Linked DNA regions of Homo sapiens: region 1 is linked to region 2. Evidence: promoter capture Hi-C in 16 types of primary human blood cells and fetal thymus (Javierre and others, 2016). All regions are on one chromosome and are shown on one strand. Each heading gives the region's core, a stretch centred on a gene start or on the middle of the fragment in contact. The rest is flanking DNA. Distances are from core to core; before and after follow the strand shown.

What was found. The method cuts DNA at HindIII sites, captures the fragments that hold promoters and counts their contacts. A CHiCAGO score of 5 or more calls a contact.
Region 1: a fragment that was not itself captured here is called in contact with the fragment with the promoter of PIANP in region 2 in 4 of 17 cell types (activated CD4 T cells, endothelial precursors, naive CD4 T cells and 1 more); the score reaches 6.1 in activated CD4 T cells.

The regions. Positions count from the first base shown.
Region 1 is chr12:6,664,238-6,669,963 of GRCh38, forward strand. ZNF384 (zinc finger protein 384) reads right to left here. Exons shown (of 12, transcript NM_001385745.1): 11 at 4,794-4,952; 12 at 2,240-3,878. The coding sequence ends at 3,477. Among named protein-coding and RNA genes, the nearest start is that of ING4, 4.0 kb to the left of the region's middle. The HindIII fragment of the contact is 755 bases long and covers 3,223-3,977 here.
Region 2 is chr12:6,697,932-6,703,366 of GRCh38, forward strand. It overlaps PIANP (PILR alpha associated neural protein), which reads right to left and starts at 2,884. Exons shown (of 5, transcript NM_001244014.2): 1 at 2,683-2,884; 2 at 114-173. The coding sequence starts at 130. RefSeq lists an enhancer at 1,664-2,165. The HindIII fragment of the contact is 12,862 bases long and covers 1-5,435 here.

The sequences.
Region 1 (5,726 bases), core at 2,350-4,849, 33 kb before region 2:
TGCAGCAGTATCACTACTGGGCTAGTTGGCTAGTTAGTTGCTAGCCATCACTCTAGTCAGCTATGGTAGAGTGATTTCTATGGTTTTCATCAGAATGGGAAGCAGTCAAGGGTATGAGAGGCTGCCAACACACTAGGCTGTCAACACACTGCCAACACAAAGGCCATAACCTAATAGTGGTGTTAGTAAGATAGTATTTTAGAGATAGCTGCCACCCCTCACACTTTTCGTACCCTCACACATCCTTCATAAGAATTACCAATGTCTTACGGCAAGTTTTTAAAGAGACAGACTTTCAGCTATATAATTTCTACCAAATATGTGGAGAAGAGGAACTTCCAACCCGGGGCGGATTGGAAGTTGCTTTGTTTTGCTTCGAGATGGATGCAGGGATGTATTTGAAACATTATCTGGACAGTAAGAGCAGGCTGGAGGAGGGGGTTCAGGGGCTGTAGAGTGGTGGGGGTATCAGAGCTGAAAGGATCTGTAGCCTGTAAACCCCAGGTTTACTAGTGTGCAGGTAGTAAGATACAGCAATAGAATCCGGGAAACTGCTCTAATTACAAAAGTCATGCTTTTCGGTAACTTGATCTCTGTGCCTGTTTTACTATACAATGAGACTACTACCTCCCTCATAGGGTTGTTGGAATAAGTGAGTGTGAGTGTATCCATAAAAAGAGTAGATTCTAGTTCTAATACTGGTGATGAAGTTAGGGCCATTAGGGCCTTTTCAAGAGTTGGTGAGAGTGGGAGGAAAAAGCAGTAAATATGCAGGGAGCTAAGAAACATTGGCATATTTGGTCATATGTGATACATTCATTGGTATTACACAACATATTGAGACACCATCTTAGGTGCCCACACAGGATATCTAGCACTAAATTAAGTGGGCTTTATTTATCCCAGCCCAACTACATAACAAGTACTATTGGCCAGCAGTCCCAGAGTTCTCAGGATGTGGGAGCTTGGTCACAACTTTCACAACTTTTTCGGTGCTTAAAGCAAGGTTTTTTTTTTTTTGTTTTTTTTTTTTTTTCCAGACAGAATCTCGCTCTGTGGCCCAGGCTGGAGTGCAGTGGTGCAATCCCGGCTCACTGCAACCTCCGCCTCCCAGGTTCAAGTCATTCTTCTGCCTCAGCCTGCAGCTGGGACTACAGGCGCGTGCCACCACACCTGGCTAATTTTTGTATTTTTATTTTACTTTTTTGAGAGAGAGTCTCACTCTGTCGCCCAGGCTGGAGTGCCATGGCACGATCTTGGCTCACTGCAACCTCTGCCTCCTAGGTTCAAAAGATTCTCCTGCCTCAGCCTCCTGAGTAGCTGGGATTGCAGGCGCCCACCACTATGCCTAGCTTATTTTTTGTATTTTCAGTAGAGACGGGGTTTCACCATACTGGCCAGGCTGGTCTCGAGCTCCTAACCTCATGATTCACCTGTCTCGGCCTCCCAAAGTGCTGGGATTACAGGCGTGAGCCACCGTGCACGGCCATCAATTTTTGTATTTTTAGTAGAGATGGGGTTTCACCATGTTGGCCAGGCTGGTCTTGAACTCCTGACGTCAAGTAGTCTGCCTGCCTCGCCCTCCCAAAATGCTGGGATTACAGGCGTGAGCCACCGCACCCAGCCTTAAAGCAAGTTACTTAATTCTCAAAAAAGGTATCTTCAGAGTTATCTAGTCCAATCCCTTCACTAACAGTTGAAGAAGCACCCTGGCCAACACTGGTTGATGGTAGGCAAAGGGCTGAAGTCCAGGTTTCATGACCACATTCTACTCCATAGTACTACAGCTCTCCTGCATAAATCAATCTTGCACCCCTTAACCGGTTATGATTTCCACAAGGTAACAAATACACATATGTATACACATTGCCAACTGCAAGCCCCTCTTCCACAGACTCAGGCAGGAGTGTAGGTCCTTTCAAGAGGCTTCCATTTTTCTTCCATAGGGAGCTTAGCTGTTTTGTTAACACATAACCAAAGCCTTGCTCTCACATATTTAGGCAATGCAATCCCCATGACAGAATGTGTATGTAGAAGTCCTCATAAACCAGGATTTCACTGGAGACATCATGAAACTGTACCCTTCCATGACTGGAGAATTGCACAAATGGGGCATCATCACACAAGCACTTGTTCATCACACACACACTCTGGTATAAATCCTCAGTACTGTTCTTGGACATCTCCCCAAATACCTTTTCCGCATGCTCGCTCACATCAGTAGCTCCACTGCCTCTGATCCTTTTACATGAATTTATTTCTATACAATGTTCTAAAAACACCCCTTGGTTTGTACATAAGTTTTTTTCTTTTTTTCTTCATTTTTAAATTACTTTATAACAACTGGTTTCCTGATTTTTTTTTTAATTTCCTTTCCTCTGAAATCTGCCATGATTTAAAAAAAAAAAAAAAAGACAAAAAGAAAAATGCTGTGGCTAGAGGACAGGGGTGGAGAGAGGGAAAAAAAGGACAAAAATAAACAAAACATCAAATATGAAAATTCTCAGAGATAATGCATTTATAAACACAGAAATGGTTACAACAAAGATGGCCGTGATGAGTGAGTATAATATATTTATATATATATATTTATATATAAATCCGTGTCCGGCATCTGACTGTGGCACCTAGGGAGCTAAGTCCAGTCCTTGCGTTTGCCTTGAACTCTCCCTTCTCCGCAACACCCCTGTTTTGGAGTTTCACAGATAACACAAAGCCTCCCACAGCTCCTTGGGGGTGGGTTGGGGAGACTGAGAGTATAGGGTCTTTGTAGGCAGAGAAGGAGAGAGGCTTCAAGGAAATCCGTAAAACCATAACACACACTTCTAAGCCACCTGTGACCAACTTGGGAATTTCTGGCCCCTTGGGGACCACATCTCAGCCCTTGCCCCCTTCAAATAAAAGGAGGTCTAGCCCCTACCCCAAATCTCCTTCTACCAGCAGTCAATAGGAAGCAAAGTGAGACGATGTAGGGGAAGAAATGGCTCTCAGGGACTGAGGCATTTGAGAAACCTCTGTTCTTTTGCAGGCAAGAATAGAACAAGAGGCTGGTTGCATTTGGGGCTCCCTTTTCTCTGTTATCTGGGAGGGCCAGCCTCTAGTCTTACATCAGCCCAAACTTTGAGGATAAGGAGGGTAAGGATAGGGTAAGTGGCCACACTGGACAAGGTTCTATGAGGTCATAGCAAATCCTTCCCTTGAGCACCGACCCCCAGTTTTAGAAGCTTTGCTTGGGAGGGGAGGCTGCTGGATGACACCATCAGCTCAGTATTCCTTTGCAATCAGGAGGGCTGATGTTCCTTTTGAAGAAGAGTTCAGAAAAAGGATGGTATCCTGTGAAGGAAAGCCGTGACAGAGGCCCAAGGAGATGGAGCCAAGGCCTGTCAAGGAAGAAAAGGACTTTTCCCACCAAGAGTTGGAGAAAGAAGACACCAGGACTACTTCTTCCTCTTCCCAGTGGGTGGCAGCACGGATCTCTAAGAGCTGGCCAGGTGCTCCACCTGGATGGTGCTGGTGGTGACAGTGAGGCAGATGTCCTTATGATGCTCCGCCGTCTTATACGGGGTCAGGTCAAAGGAACACTGGGGTGGAGGGTTGGGATTGCTGTCCCCACCACCCCCACCCTGGGGGGCTGCCCCAGGAGACTGGAAGTGTGGTGGTGGCTGTTGCTGCTGCTGCTGCTGCTGCTGCTGCTGCTGCTGCTGCTGCTGTGATGCCTGGGAGGCCTGGGCCTGGGCCTGGGCTTGAGCCTGAGCCTGAGCCTGGGCTTGAGCTTGAGCCTGGGCCTGGGCCACTGCTGCCGCTGCTGCTGCTGCCTGCACCTGTTGCTGAAGATCAGGCGGGTTGTGTTTGCGCATATGTTTCATAAGGTATGTTTCCTGAGGGAGATGGTAAAAAGAAGTTGAGGGATAAAGAGGAAGGAAAAGAGATTACTTGTAACTAGCACCCCAGGCTCTGATTCTGCTGTAAGCAGAGTAAGCTTTATACTGGTTTTCTGGAGCCAAGACTGAGCAAAACTCAAGTAGCACTTTCAGTGGCTCACTACTGAGAAAAAAAAGAGAGGAACCTTTAGAAGTCACTCAACATTCAACTGGCAAAGGAATGAGCTGCTATTTTTTTCAAAGACCCCTGAATGAAACAACTTTACAACCTTTTCTGGAGTCTCATGGAAAATATCTAACTGGGCCAGGTGCGGTGGCTCACACCTGTAATCCCAGTACTTTGGGAGGCTGAGGTAGGTGGATCACTTGAGGTCAGGAGTTTGAGACCAGCCTGGGCAACATGGTGAAACCCCATGTCTACTAAAAATACAAAAAGTTGCTGGGCATGGCAACATGCACCTGTAATCCCACCTACTTGGGAGGCTGAGGCAGGAGAATCGCTTGAACCCAGGAGGTGGAGGTTACAGTGAGCCGAGCCGAGATCACACCACTGCACTCCAGCCTGGGTGACAGGGCGAGACTGTGTCTCAAAAAGAAAAAAAAAAAAAAAAGAAGAAGAAAATGCCTAACTGAAATCCAGCTCCCCTCAAAATTTCAAGTGGCTTTATTTTGCCTTATGTTTAAGTAAAATGAAGAATTACAGCTTATGCGTCTCTATAGGATTAGGAGATCAGGCATCCCCTAAATTCCTCAGAATGGGTCTAATTAATTTCTGAATATTTACCTGTTCTGCTAAGTTGGAGCTAGGGAGGCAGGGTATTCACTGCAACAGATCTCTACCCAGAAAATGGGGTGAAGTGGACTGTACTCTTAGAGGACTATGAGGAAGGAGAGAAGAAACGGAGCACTCACTGATGTGTATGCCCGACTGCAGATAGTGCAGGTGTACACCTTGGCATGCTTCACTGTGTGCGTAGACAGGTGCACCTCTAGTGAGGCTGCATCCGTGTACGCCCGATGACAGTTGTGGCACTTGAAGGGTTTATCTTTGTTGTGTTGCCGTCTGTGGGACTGAGAAAATTGGGAGAAACCAGAATGAATACATTGTACTCTTTCCTCCTGCCCCCTTGACCTCGATGGAAAGCAAAAAGGTAGGTGTCAGGCCTCCCAGCTTCTCCCTCTATCTGAAGAAAGTAGAAATTGTTTCAAATGAAACTTGAGAAGCTACAGGCTAAGGGTGGAAGCATACCTCATGTAGCACATACCAGGATCCCAAGACAGCTTATGCCCGTCTCACCAGTCCAGTGGTTCTTAAAATGAGGCATGGGGATCTTTAGGGAACACTAAGACCTTCACAGGGGGCCCACAGGGTCAAAACTCTTTTTTTTTTTTTTTCCCAGATGAAGTCTCTCACTCTGTCGCTCAGGTTGGAGTGCAGCGGCACAATCTCGGCTCATTGCAACCTCCGCTTCCCGGGTTCAAGCGATTCTCCTGCCTCAGCCTGCAAGTAGCTGGGACTACAGGCACATGCCACCAGGCCTGGCTAATTTTTTTTGTATTTTTAGTAGAGACAAGGTTTCACCGTGTTGGCCAGGCTGGTTTCCAACTCCTGAGCTCAGGTGATCCGCCCGCCTCCGCCGCCCAAAGTGCTGAGATTACAGGTGTGAGCCACCGCGCCCAGCCAAATCTTTTCAAAATAATAAGACAATGTTTGCCTTTGTCTCTCTTGAACCTGGGAAGTTGCAGTAAGCTGAAATCACACCACTGCACTCCAGCCTAGGTGACCCAGCGAGCCTCTGTCTCAAACACGCACACGCGCGCGCGCACACACACACACACACACAA
Region 2 (5,435 bases), core at 1,634-4,133:
TTCCAAAGGAGGATGGCCCTCAGGATGGGAAGGCTCTGGATGGGTCTAGGAAGGAAGGAGTCATGGCCCCAGGGAATGTGGTCTCCAGGCTCCCTCTGCTGGGCCAAACTTACCACATCCTGGACTCCATGTCTGAGGTCTTCCTCAGCTGTGACCCAGATTTTCAGCCTTTACTGGGAGAAAAAGGGGGCCGTCACACCCCAGCCCTGCCCTGTGTACTTCCCCAGCTAATTCATCCACCAATTCTACCCGCATCTGCCCTCCCAGGCCACCCAGCTGCCAGCTATGCGGCTGCACCCAGGATTCACTGGTTGTTAGCATCCTTTTGGGGGAAAAACTCCAGCGTGGTTGCCTGACCAGACTCCAGCCCCATCTACAACTTCTCAGGTCCCTGTTACCTCTCCACCCCAGGGTCTACTCTGGCTTCTCTGATTTCCCTTCTTCTCACTTCCTCTGCCCACAGCTCCAGGCTTTTCTTGGATCTTAATTTAGAGCCAAGAACCTTGTGATTCCTTGAGCACCTACCGCTAGGGAGGGAGTCTGAGGGTAGGGGGAGGGATGGGGAAGTCAATCTGAGCAAGCCAGTGAGTGTGTGTACGTGCAGGGGGGCCCTTCCAGCCCTCCCAGCCCTCCCACCCCTCTGGCAGTGCCAGGCATTTGTCTTATGATTAGCCCCAGGAGTCTGCATCTTCAGGAGAAAGGAATGAAGAGCTGGAGGGATGGAAGGAAAGAGACAGAAAGAGAGAGGTGAGTGGGAGAAAAACTACAGAATATAATTTTTGCTCTTAATGTTTAATCATCCAAGTGCATAGGTGCCCTCTGAAGGGAGGTGGAGTCAGGAAGAAACCACCCCCTCAAATGTGGCTCTCCTGGGTAAAGAATCCTGGGAAAATCGGGATGGTTGGTTTTGAAAGAGAAAGGGTGTGTTCTCAGAGCTGAGGGTGGTGGATCCAGGAGGGGCAGGCTCCCCAGAGGGAGTGAAGATAGGATACCCGTTTCCTGTGGATTCTGGGTCTAAATCTGCCCAATGGGCCAGACGCAGTGGCTCACGCCTGTAATCCTAGCACTTTGGGAAGCCAAGGCGGGTGGATCACCTGAGATCAGGAGTTCGAGACTAGCTTGGCCAACATAGTGAAACCCCGTGTCTACTAAAAATACAAAAATTAGCCGGGGGTAGTGGTGGGCGCCTGCAATCCCAGCTATTCAGAGGGCTGAGGCAGAAGAATCCCTTGAACCTGGGAGGCGGAGGTTGCAGTGAGCTGAGATCACACCATTGCACTCCAGTCTGGGCAACAAGAGCGAGACTCCGACTCAAAAAATAAAATAAATAAATCTGCCCATTGAATCTTCCCAGAGAACAACAAGGGAACAAGATGGGAAAGTCACGGGAAGGGCGTGGGGAAGCAGGCAGTGGGAGAGATGGGAAGGGGTGAAGGGCTGGGAGATGGAAGGCTGGTTAAGAGTGAGAGAGGAGAAATGTGAAGAGGAAGCTGGCCTGGAGTGCAGGGTGAGAGAGAGCAGGCAGTCCTGAAAAAGAGAGAACTGGGAAGAGAGGAGGAGAGTGGGTACAGAAGACTCGAACTGTGGAGGATGCCGAAGGGAGGAAAGGATGAGAGAAAAGGTCAGGGAGGGGAAACGGAGAGGATGAAGGGGTCACAGGTGCAGGGGAAGAAGGGGCAGGAGGAGAAGGAGAGAGCGGTCCAGGCAGGACAGCCAGAGGAGTGGAGAGTAAGGGGATGGGAGAAAAGGGGGGAAAGCCCAGGATGGGGAGAAAGGAAGTGGGGAAGGAGAGAACATAAATGCTTAAGGAAAAATGACACGAGGAACGGGCTGGGAAGCAGAGGCGGGAGCAGCAAAGATGGAGGAGTTCGGAATTGCTCCCCCAAATGTAAAGGGATGTGGAGATACCGAAAGACATAGGGATGGGGGCATGGTGGGAAGAAGGGAGAGAGAGGGGAAAGGAAGAAAGCTAGAGGGAGGGAGCGAGGCGTGTAGAGCGAACCAGTGAAGCGGAGAAGGGCTCCCAGGGCGCATCTGTGGCCAGCTGACTCTAGGACTATCGCCCCTCCGCCTGTGCATCCCCACCCCCAGCCAGCGCCAACCCAGTCCCTGGGCCCCGCACAGCTTCAGCCGCCCCCTCCAGGAAGCCCGCAGTCCCCGGGCTGGCGCGCCACCCCCACCCCTCTCCCAGCTTCTCACCGACCTGTTGTGCGCAGGAGACGAGCTGGGGGTGGGGCAGGAGCCTCGGGGTGCGGGAGCCGGGCCCCAGCCCCAGCGTGGCCCCCATCCCACCCATCCCGCAGGCCCGCACTCCCCGCACAGGGCTGGAGAGCGGCGAGAGTGGGGGGAGACGAGGAAAAGGAGGTCGGCGAAGGGACCCCGAGGCAGGGAGTGCCGAGAGCGGACTGGGGACCCGAAGCAGGAGACTGCGCGGAGCCGCCCGCCGAGCCGAGGCGGGATGGAGGCAGCCGCGGGGACGGGGACGGCTGCGCCAGGGAGGGCGGGAGCGAGCCAGGACCGCGGAGGGATGGAGAGCCCTTCGGGGAAGGGGCGCTGGGAGGCTGGAGGCCTTGTCCCGGGCGAGGGACCGCGTCGGGAGGGGCAGGAGGCGCAGGGCGCGGAGCCGGGAAGGGCAGGGCCGGGCTCCCCGCGGGTGGGGGCGTGGGGGTCCCTCTCACTCACCTGCATGCTTGGCGCGGCGGCGCGACGACTGCGGGCGCTCGGGACTGAGCGGGGCTGGGGGGTCGCAGGAGCGGGCGGGGTGCGGGGCATGGTGGGGAGGTTTGGCCCGCGGCAGGGCGCTGGAGCGGGTGGGGGGCGGGCGCCTGGGGCGCGGGGCGGCGGCGGTGGGAGATGCTCGCCTCGGCTCGGCTCGGCTCGGCTCGGCTGGGCTCGGCGCGGCGGCTGGGACCGCTCCGTCTCCGTCTCCGCCTCCCCCCCGCGCCGGAGGCCACGCACGGTTTAACCCTCCTGCTGCCGCGCTGCAGGAGTCAAGCCAGGCTATGTCCCAGGTGGAGGGCTGAAGAGGCTGGCAGGGTCCAGCGACCGTCCGCTTCCCTGGGTTCTGATGGCAGTCTCCCCACCTCCTTCACCCCAACTCCAGGGACACCCATGGTCGCCTCAGTCAGTTTCTGAGATTCTGAGTCACTCAATGCTCTGCATTCCCAACTTTGTTCTTTTGTATTGTGTTTTGTAGAGATGAGGTCTCGCTGTGTTGCCCAGCCCGGTCTCGAACGCCTGGGCTCAAGCGATCCTTCCCGCTCAGCTTCCCGGAGTGCTGGGATTACAGGCGTGAGTCACCACTGCCTGTCCCCCAACTTGGTTTTGCCCGCTGTAGAAAGTGCCTGAGGTCAAGGCTGGGGGCAAGGGGTGGAGGAAAGGACTGGGGAGGAAGGACCTTGCACCATCTTTGGATTATCCCCACAGCTTGATCCCCTATTTCACTCTGGCCCTGCTACCATGCATTAAGTGGATCACGTCGAAATTCCTGGGCTTTTCCAGCACTGGAATACCTAGACTCCGTGCTGTGACTTACAAGACCCTATATAACCTGGCTCTTAGGTGGCTCTCTGATTGCCTTTCCTAAAGATTTCTATGCTTCAGCCACATGGGACCTGGTGGATTTCCTGGTTGGAGACAGGTTTAACCTGCCTCAGGGCCTTTGCACTTGCTGTTCCCTCAGTAATACATTTCCCTGGCTTTTCACAATGACTTACTGTTTTCATTCCAGTCTCACTTAGATCCAACGCCTTCTGGGAGGCCTTCCCTAATGTCTCTATCAAAAGTAGCCTCTCCTGCCCCTTCTCCCACCACCTGGATCCCATCCCTCTCTACCACACTACGCTGTTTTTCCTCAGGGCACTTCCAGGACACCACACTCTCCTCATTTCCCTCCAACCTCACTGACTGTTCTTAGTCTTCCTCGGGTGACCTCTAAATGTTGGAGCCTCCTAGGGCTTAGTCCTTGGCCATTCTCTCTTTCCACATTCTCTGTCCAGTGATCTCATCCGGTCCCAGGGCTTAAATACTATGTAAATGTCAGTGAGTCCTAAATTTATATCCAGAGCGCCAGACTCATTTATCCGACAGCCTACTTGACATCTCCACTTGGATGTCTAATAGCCATGCAAAGCTAACTTGACTAAAATAGATGTCTTGAATTCCCCCACCCCCAATCCATTTTTCTCCCAGTGATCCCCATCCTGAGGCTTCACAACTACTAGTTGTTCAGGCTAAAAATCTAGGAAACATCCCTCCCTTCCCCTTTTTTTCACTGATTCTCTCCCTGTATCTAATTCACCAACAAGTCCTGTGGGCTCTGCGTCCAAAATATATCCCGAATTCATCTCCTTCTATCTTTATTGCTATAGTCTTGGTCTAAGCCATCATGTCTCATCCAGATTATCATAATAGCTTCCTCACTGGTCCCTGCTTCTGCCCTTGTCTTTACAAACTAGTTTTTCCTATATTGATAATATTTTAAAAATCAAAAGCATGTCATGCTCTTCTCTGCTTAAAATATTCGAGTGGTTTTTCATTACACTTGGAATAAATCTGAACTCCTTGTAAGGAGAAGCCCACCAGCCTGTACCCACCTCATACACAGTGCTCCTGCTGGATCAGACTACTTGCTGTTCTGTAACATCAGAAGTCATTCTCTTAGCATCCCTGCACTTTTTTTTTTTCTCGAGACAGTGTGTCTCTCTGTTGCCCAGGCTGGAGTGCAATGGCACGATCTCAGTTTACTGCAACCTCCGCCTCCCAGGGTCAAGCAATTCTCCTGCCTCAGCTTCCCAAGTAGCTAGCGTGTGCATGCAGGGGGGCCCTTCCAGCCTTCCCAGCCCTCCCACCCCTCTGGCAGTGCCCACTAGTGCCCTGCTAATTTTTGTATTTTTTGTAGAGACAGGGTTTCACCATGTTGGCCAGGCTAGTCTTGAACTCCTGACCTCAAATGATCCACCAGCCTTGGCCTCACGAAGTTCTGAGATTACAGGCGTGAGCCACTGCGCCCGGCCCCTCCACTTTTGATTCCCTCTTCCTGGAATGTTTTGCCACCCCTCTCCCCATCTTCACCTGGTTGGCTCCTTCATCCCTGCTCAAAATCTAAAGTGGCCCCCACTCTGTTTCCTCATTATGTTTCATTGTCTTTCCAACTCATCACTTTCTATTTGTTTATTTATTTATTGAGATGGAGTTTTGCTCTCGCAGCCCAGGCTGGAGTGCGATGGTGCAATCTTGGCTCACCGCAACCTCTGCCTCCTGGGTTCAAGCGATTCTCCTGCCTCAGCCTCCCAAATAGCTGGGATTACAGGTGCACACCACCATGCCTGGCTAATTTTTGTAATTTTAGTGGAGACGGGGTTTCACCATGTTGGCCAGGCTGGTCTCGAACTCCTGACCTCAGGTGATCCTCCCACCTCGGCCTCCCAAAGTGC